Linked DNA regions of Homo sapiens: region 2 is linked to region 1. Evidence: promoter capture Hi-C in human tissues and cell types (Jung and others, 2019). All regions are on one chromosome and are shown on one strand. The core of a region is centred on a gene start or on the middle of the fragment in contact, and the rest is flanking DNA. Distances in the headings are between cores, read along the strand shown.

Region 1 (4,174 bases), core at 425-2,924:
AAGGGGTGGGATAAAGACTTTGATAATTAGGCCAGGCACGGTGGCTCACACCTGTAATCCCAGCACTTTGGGAGGCTGAGGAGGGTGGATCACTTGAGGTCAGGAGTTGGAGACCAGCCTGGCCAACATGGTGAAACCCTGTCTCTACTAAAAATACAAAATTAGCCGGGCGTGGTGGTGCGCGCCTGTAATCCCAGCTACTCAGGAGGCTGAGGCAGGAGAATCACTTGAACCCGGAAGACAGAGGTTGCAGTGAGCCAAGATTGTGCCACTGCACTCCAGCCTGAGCAACAGAACAAGATTTTCTCTGTAAAAAAAAAAAAAAAAAAAAAAAAAAAGACTTTGATAATTTGTCTGCCTACCTGGGCCCTGCTTTCTCAGGGACTTTAGGTGGGTCCCTGGGCAGTGAGAGGGAAGCAGAAGGTAAGTGGCCACCCCCACCTGTCCCAGGTCTTAGTTTCTCGTCCCATCCTAGCAGGTTCAGATACTTCTTTTAGGCAGATTTGTGGGTGCTCGCTCTGGGGCAGCCCAGGACATTCTGGTAGGAGACTCCTCAGTTAATAATACCTCACATACTTCCAGCACTTCTTGGTCTTTTATGTGCTTTTACGGCCATAACCTGTGCGTCTGACAGTCAATCTAGGATGGACAGAGCTCTGTTCTAAGCCTCTTTTTCGTAGGAGCTGCAGCTCAGAGAGGTTAAGGGCCTTGCCAAGGCCACGCGGCCAGTGGGTGACTAAATTGGGACTTGATCCCAGCTCTTGAGATTGCAAACCCCATAGTGACACTGCAGCAGCTACAGAAAACGGGGCCTGATGATGGCTGGGTCCCAGTGACACGTCTGGGGAAGCGGGGAGAACGAGCTCTGGCATGGGAGGAATGGAAAAGGGGGGAAGATGGAGACGGGGTGATGGAAGCTAAGCGTGGAGGCAGGAAGAGAGCTCTGGCAGGGGTTGTAGAGGCTTTGAGACAGAACTAGCGGTGTCTCCAGAAAGACCCCGTGAAATGTCCCAGCAGGGCTGAAAGAAACAGAAGAGGTGTCCTCCCACCCCATGTCTCTGTGAACCAAGGCAGGGAGGGACCTACTGTGTGCATTTCACAGGCGAGAAAAAGGAGCAAGGATAGGTGGCTATTGGCTTGCCCCAGGCCCACAGGAGCGCAGGGCCCAGGGGCCCTGTTAGAAGCGGGCAGCACAGGCGAGACTTCCAGACCTTCCCCTCTACCAGGGATGATGAAATAGATGATGAGAGGGGAGGTGGAGATGGAGACAGAAATCAGGGCCGCATCCAAAGAGGGAGGAGGAAAAGGCAGAGGCGCAGCTGGAGCTGCAGAGAGGTGCAGAGACAGTGGAGATGAGGCCCTGATGCCCGGCTCTGGTTTCACGCGGGCAGCGTCAGCTGGTCGGTGTCACGGAGTTCCCGCGTCCTCCGCCCGCTCAGCCCCCGCGGACCCATCCACTGGGGTTGCTCCGCAGCGCGACTCTCTCTCATCCCGGGGGAGGGCTAAGGGCGGCGGTGGGGGGCGGGGTGGGGGGGAAGCGGCGGGAGGGGGCGGTGCGCCGCCGCCTTACCCCGGGCTCGCGAATCCGCAGCGTCCTCCGCAGCATCTTCCCAGGCCCGGCCCTCTCCTCCCCCCGCGCCGATGGTACGCGCCGGCTCGCCTGGCCCGGCTGCAGTGGATGTTGCTAGAACCCACGCGGAGGAAGGAAGAGACGCAGGCAGGCTGCGGTTACCCAAGCGGCCACCCGGGCCTCAGGGACCCCTTCCCCGAGAGACGGCACCATGACCCAGGGAAAGGTACCGGCATCTCCCCAGCCTGCACCATCCTCCATCCTCCGGCTCCCGGCTCCCTGTCATCCTCAGCAAGCCCTCTGGACCACGAAAGCATCCTCCCCTGGCCCTAGTTTGAAGGTCCTCCGTGGTCCTTGCTGAAGTCAGAGGACCGAAAGGCCGGTGTCAAGGAATGGACCGAGGCCTCTTCCTGCCCGCAGGCGCGCCTCTCCTCCCCTGTCACCCTGCCACCCCTGCTTTGGCATTACAGCATTACAAGGCTCCTCACAGATACCCAGGCCCCCCGTGAGGAGTCAGCCCGGGCGTCTGGTGTGACTGTATGTGTGTGCATGGGTATGTGTGTGCCAGGGTGAGCCCTGAGGGGCAGTGCCTATCGGGCAACCCCCTCTGGCCCAACCCTCCAGTCCCAAACCCAACCACTTTATGCTCATCTTTCCCACCCTCCACGGAAACAACCCCCACCCTACTCCCTGCCATTGTTCCACATCTGGGCGTCTTGGCTCCATCCCTGTGCTTGGGGCTTGCTATGACAACTCTGCATCAAGATGCTCTAATTGTTGTTTTGGTTTTGGCCAGGCATGGATGGGTCCGGATGAAGCATCTCTTCTCCAGTTTTAGGCCTGAATTGTAGGGGAGGGGCTGGGGCAGAGACTCGGCTGGCCTAGTAGGCTTATGTAACATCAATAGCCTGTGGAATTATACAACCACTAGGGCCTGGGGCTAAGGGGGAGGGTACTCGGGCCCTCTGTTTGGGTTGCTAAGGATTGGGCAGAGAAAACAGGGGAAGGACCTCCCCTACACTCCCCCTTCTTCTCTTTGAGAGGAGCTTCAGAGCCAATGACATCCTTCCCTGGACCCTCAGACCCTCCTCTCCCTGTATGCAAGCTCTTTGGGCCTCAAATGATGTCACTGGGTGATACCACCTCCCGCCATTGGTCACACCTCACTTGGGAGTGCCGTATGTGTGTCGGGGGCCTGGGCATTAGGGTCCAGGAGGCTCTGGGGGGCGGAGTGGCAGGGTGGAGGCTGAACTCGATTTAGGTGGACATGATCCTTCAGATCCGGGTGATGAGGGGGGCTGGGGAGTGGGAGGCAGTGGGAGGCCTGGGGAGTGTTCAGTTCCGTAAACATGGAGAACTCACCCCTTCTGCTGAGTCTCCTTCCACCTCCACCCTGCCTCCACCAGGCCCTTTAGTGGCGCTGTTCCCTTCCTGGTGTGAGGGGGACCTCTGCCTCCTCTGCCCCTTGTCCCCAGCTCACGCACAGGCTTGCTGGGGGATGGAGAAGACCGCTCCAGTTCAGTGGTCCTTGGGCCTGGATGGAACCAGAAGTCTTCTGGTGCGTGCCTGTCTCCAGGCTGCCTCAGCCAGATGCTCCCTGCAAAGAAGGAAGTCCGCAGTCTTCCTCAGTGGCCCTTTAGGTCTAACACAGTCTTCTGGGAACCAGACCTAAATCCCATTTTCTGAGAGCCGGGCTTTTTGTTGCTGTTTCAATTTCACACCACCCCCTCCACCCCAGTCTTTCCTTCTCTGGCTGCCTCATTCAGGCCTTCCCAGCTCAAATCCTCTCACCAAAGCTAAACATGTCCACGGGTGGGGGGCAGGGGACACATCTGAGTGTAAATGGACTCGCATTTCCAACCTGCCATGGGGACGTTTCCCTTTGAGCCTCAGTTTCCTCATCTGTTCAGTGACGGAAGAGACTCAACTGGATGTCTTCTGAGGCCCCTTCCACTGGGTCACTCTGTGAGTCTGTTCTGGTTTAGGGGAGAGGCTGAGATTCCTACAGGATGAGGCCAGAACAGACCCTTAGCCTGGATCCTCTTGCCCTTCCTCCACCCTGAAGGCCCTTCTTCTTTTCTGTTTTCTCCCTCTCCTCTTCCCTTTCTGTTGCCCTTCTCTCTCCCATCTCCATTCTCCTTGCATCACTTCCAGCGCAACAGAAGGATCAATCCCAGTGGATGATGCCTAGGCCCTGCCTCTCAGTGGGCCACATGCAGCTCTGTGACCTTGGATGAATCGCTCTTCCTCTGTGATCCTCATTCTCCTCATTTTAAAGCAGGGGTCAAAATGCAGCTAGCAAGTCTCAGGAAGATTAAATGACATAACCTTTTATTTGTAACAATCTACTATGTGCCAGGCTCTTTTCTGGAACCATAGAGACCCTGCCCCTACCCCAGGGACAATGACAGTGACAACCAATGGTGGACACTCCTAAGAATTTTCTCTTTCCTCTGTTCCTATCCCAGCTCCACCATGTGCCCCAGCTAGCTCTGACCCCTCTGGAGCTTAGTTCTCTTGTCTATAAAATAGAGACATTCTTGTCTGCATTCCTGGCTTCCAAGTGCAGGTAAGGAAGGAACCATGAAAGTTCCAGGAATTGAA
Region 2 (3,922 bases), core at 400-2,899, 42 kb before region 1:
CGGGGCTTGGCTGTGCTTCTGGCTGGCAGCTCTGCTCACCTGCAGGGATGGCTGCATTTTTTCTACAATGGCCACTACACTGTTTCTTAGGAAGTCTATGCATCTATCATGCACTATTAATTAGAACATGACAAAAATTGCTGATGAATTCACAGCAATGTGAATGTGCTTAATGCCACTGAACTGTGCACTTAAAAATGGTTAAGATGAGGGCCAGGCGTGGTGGCTCACGCCTGTAATCCCAGCACTTTGGGAGGCCGAGGTGGGTGGATCACCTGAGGTCGGAAGTTTGAGACCAGCCTGACCAACATGGAGAAACACCATCTCTACTAAAAATACAAAATTAGCTGGGTGTGGTGGCACATGCCTGTAATCCCAGCTACTCGGAGGCTGAGGCAGGAGAATCACTTGAACCCAGGAGGTGGAGGTTGCAGTGAGCTGAGATCATGCCACTGCACTCCAGCCTGGGCAACAAGAGCGAAAATCCGTCTCAAAAAAAAAAAAAAAGTTAAGATGGTAAATTTTATGTTATGCGTATTTTATAGGCTGGGCTTGGTGGCTCATGCCTGTAATCCCAGCACTTTGAGAGGCCAAGGTGGGCGGATCACTTGAGCCCAGGAGTTTGAGACCAGTCTGGCAACATGGTGAAACCCTATCTTTACAAAAAATACTCACAAAAAATTAGCTAGGCATGGTGGTGTGCACCTGTAGTCCGGCTGATGTGGGAGGATTGCTTGAGACTGGGAGGCAGAAGTTGCAGTGAGCTGAGATTGCACTACTGCACTCCAGCCTGGGTGAAAGGGCGAGACACTGTATCACAGACACACACACAAAAAAGATATTTTAGATTTATTTAGATATCAGTCTTTAAAGTCAGAATTGCTCTTTTGCATGCATAAAAGGAAATTATAGGCAAAACAAATTGGCTAAAATAGTCCCCAGATTTCTTCACATTCAGAGTCCAATTTTTCTGAAACCCTCTTTGACTCAGAGCCTTGATTTTCTGCATGGTGTCACCTTCTGTGCCATCAGGAGCATTGGCAATGTGCCATTCTTTAAAAGATTGTCCACTATTGTTTCCACCATTTATTTTCAAGCCTCAGCCACTCATTCTGCAAGCTTTATTGCCGGGGTTTTCTTGCTTCACGTGTGACTAGCAATCATTCTGCCCTTTTCTCGGTAATAAAACAACACAACAGTTCCATTTACTTATGGGGCTCTTCCTTTCTTAGGTCTCACAAAACACTTGGCTGCTGTTTTGCAAGAAAATATGAAACTGTGGTCATTCTTCAATGATAACTGCTTCACTAATATAAAATTCTTGCTACACTCTTCTGTTTGCCCGCCTTTCTGCATACACAGTAACTGGGTTTAAATGCTAAACCACAGTGTAACCTTTTTGAAGACATTTTAAACAGCAATTAAGCTGAAGGCACGGAACTCACCTGACCAAGTTTAGGTATGCGCAGGCAATGACGGCCACTCCCAGCTGCCACACGAGCGGAAGAGCTCTTATGATGAGAAACGAGATACACCTTAGAATTGGTGAAACATGGCAGTTACAAGATTAAACCCATATGCAATGCCCATTCTGCCACGCGCTGTTCTAGACATTCTTGGATATATCAGCTCACTTAAATCCTCACAACCATCTTAGGAGCTAAATATTATCATCCTGTTTTTTAAAGATGAGGAAAATGAGACAGAGAGAGGTTAAGTAACTTTCCTGAGATTTCACAGCTAGTAAAAGTGGGAAGGCAGAATTAGAACTCCAGTAGCCTGGCTTTGAGAGAACTTTTTTGATTGTAAAGGTGAATCCCTAATTCATTCCCTGAAATAATCAAGATGGGAACGAGGTGGGAAAGAGTGCTTAAGGTCTTTGAATAATAAAGACACGGATTAGGGTGTTGTTTGCTGCTGGCTTGAAAGAGCAGGCGGGGACGGTGGAAAACAGGCGGTGGAAGGAGGGTGTCTGGGAGCTAGGCCGGGTTGAGCCGTGGCTGTGGCCGCGGCCGGTGAGGACGCCCCCTGCTGGAGCACTGTGATGGGATTCGGAGCAGCGCTGTCTGACAGTTGACGTGAGATGTGTTTCCTGCTCTGAGCTGAGTCACAAATGCCCTCTACTCTCCCCGAAAGGTCGGTAAAAGTGGGTCACACAGCAGGCCTGTGAGTCTGGTGCTTTGGGGACTGAGGGAGAAGGGAGCGGGTAGATCCACAGTCGGGGCGAAGCGGGACGAAGTGAAGAGAGCAGCCACGGGCCGCGGCTGGCAGGAGAGGAGGGTGGGAGTTGTGTCCCCGGACTCAGACAGCCTCTGAAGGATGGAGGGCGTTGGATCGTTGCAGCTCTGAGACACAGCGTGAGCCATTTGATTTCTGTGTAGGGTTTCCAGATAAAATACAGGACATCCAGGTAAATTTGAATTTCAGATAAAAAACAAATGATTTTTGTTTGTATAAGCATATTCCAAGCAATATTTGGGACATACATACTAATACCAAAAACATATTCTTTTACTGGAGGTCTGCAGACATCTGGCTTACAAACTAAATCTTCACAAGGACTTTTGGGGATGAGTTCTATGAGACCTATTTTACAAAGGAGGAAACTGAGGGACAGAGATTAGACAAGTTGCCCATGATCACAAGGCTAGTAAGTGACAGAAACAAGCTATGAATATAGAAATTCAAGCCTTCTCCTGATAATAGGCTGACTTCCTTCTCCAAACCCTACCTCAAAGGCCAGGTGGTCGTGACGGTTGAGGCCCAGGTGGAGGCAGGGAAGGCCACAGGTCCAGGCTCCTGGGGAGACACAAAGACAACTTCCTGCCATTTCCCTCCTGCCCATGGGGTGAGGCCCAGGGATGAAGAAGATGGGATCTTGCTAACCTCCCATGGCTCCCCACTGCCCTCGAGAAAGGCCAGACCTTGAACTTGGTGTGTCCTCCTTCTAGCCCTTTCATCTCTGAGCCTGATACCTATTGTTTCTTCTTTTGGAACCTGTGTCACCACCATTTCTCATGGCTAACTCTTCCTCTAACTCTAGGCCAGTGGCTTTCAGAGGTTTTTGATTGAGACCTGCAGTAAGAAATACATTTAATATCTTAACTAATAAACATGATCTCTCAGACAGACAGATAGATAGATAGATAACTGAAACTAACATTTCACAAAACAGTATTTCCTAAGTGTGATGTTGTAAATTCCTCTCTATTTCACTAACAAGTAATTCAGGTCACAACTACTAAATTGATTTTATGACCCACAAATGGGTTGCCACTCACAGTTTGAAAGACACTGGTGGAGGTTCTGGCTGAAAAATTGCTTTTTCATTGGGAGAGGCTTCCTGTAGGCCCATAACACACAGTCCCGGGGGCATCTGCCCAGGGTTTGCCTTGCCTTTTGTGTTGCTCACGGATGTGATTCTCTGTTCAGCATCGGGCTTCTCCTCTGGACTGTGAACTCCTAGAGGGCAGGGTCCATTTCTGGATTTGCTCACCATGGCACCGCAGTGCCTAGCACAGGCCCTGGCCCTTTAGAGGTGCTCAGTACATGTTTGTTGAGTGAATCAATGAGCAAACTGCCAGCCCTTATACCCCCCTTAAGCCCACTTGTGCCCTGCCCCACACCTGCTGTGTTGCAGCCACGTGGTGGTCCTCAGGGACCTGGTTCAGGGTAGAGGTTGATTCCTGGAGCTTGGATGGAGAGAGGGAGCATGTGCATGTGTGCACTGGTGGAATGAGAAGGGGCCAGGAACAAGTCTGCCCACATTTGAGAAAGATTAGATGTGGGGGGCTAGGGTCAGGGAAACCTTTCTAATAACACTGCTTTGTGAAACAGTGAGTTCCTACCTGCTTGGAGGGTCCAAGCAGGCTGAGCAAAATGCCAGAAAAGCTTGGCAAGGGTTTGTGCACCAGGGGAAGGG

Evidence for each region. The method cuts DNA at HindIII sites, captures the fragments that hold promoters and counts their contacts. A contact is called where the count stands out against the background at its distance.
Region 2: a fragment that was not itself captured here is called in contact with the fragment with the promoter of FAIM2 in region 1 in 7 of the 25 tissues and cell types used here (IMR-90 fibroblasts, bladder, heart left ventricle and 4 more).

The regions. Positions count from the first base shown.
Region 1 is chr12:49,901,400-49,905,573 of GRCh38, reverse strand. It overlaps FAIM2 (Fas apoptotic inhibitory molecule 2), which reads left to right and starts at 1,674. Exons shown (of 12, transcript NM_012306.4): 1 at 1,674-1,796. The coding sequence starts at 1,782. The HindIII fragment of the contact is 14,088 bases long and covers 1-4,174 here.
Region 2 is chr12:49,943,839-49,947,760 of GRCh38, reverse strand. It overlaps LOC124902930 (a long non-coding RNA gene), which reads left to right and starts at 2,054. Exons shown (of 2, transcript XR_007063302.1): 1 at 2,054-2,136. It overlaps LOC105369763 (a long non-coding RNA gene), which reads right to left. Exons shown (of 5, transcript XR_944948.3): 2 at 3,282-3,922; 3 at 2,732-2,799; 4 at 1,446-2,373; 5 at 838-1,253. RefSeq lists enhancers at 1,010-1,885, 1,861-2,155, 1,886-2,762 and a silencer at 1,982-2,222. The HindIII fragment of the contact is 4,586 bases long and covers 1-3,922 here.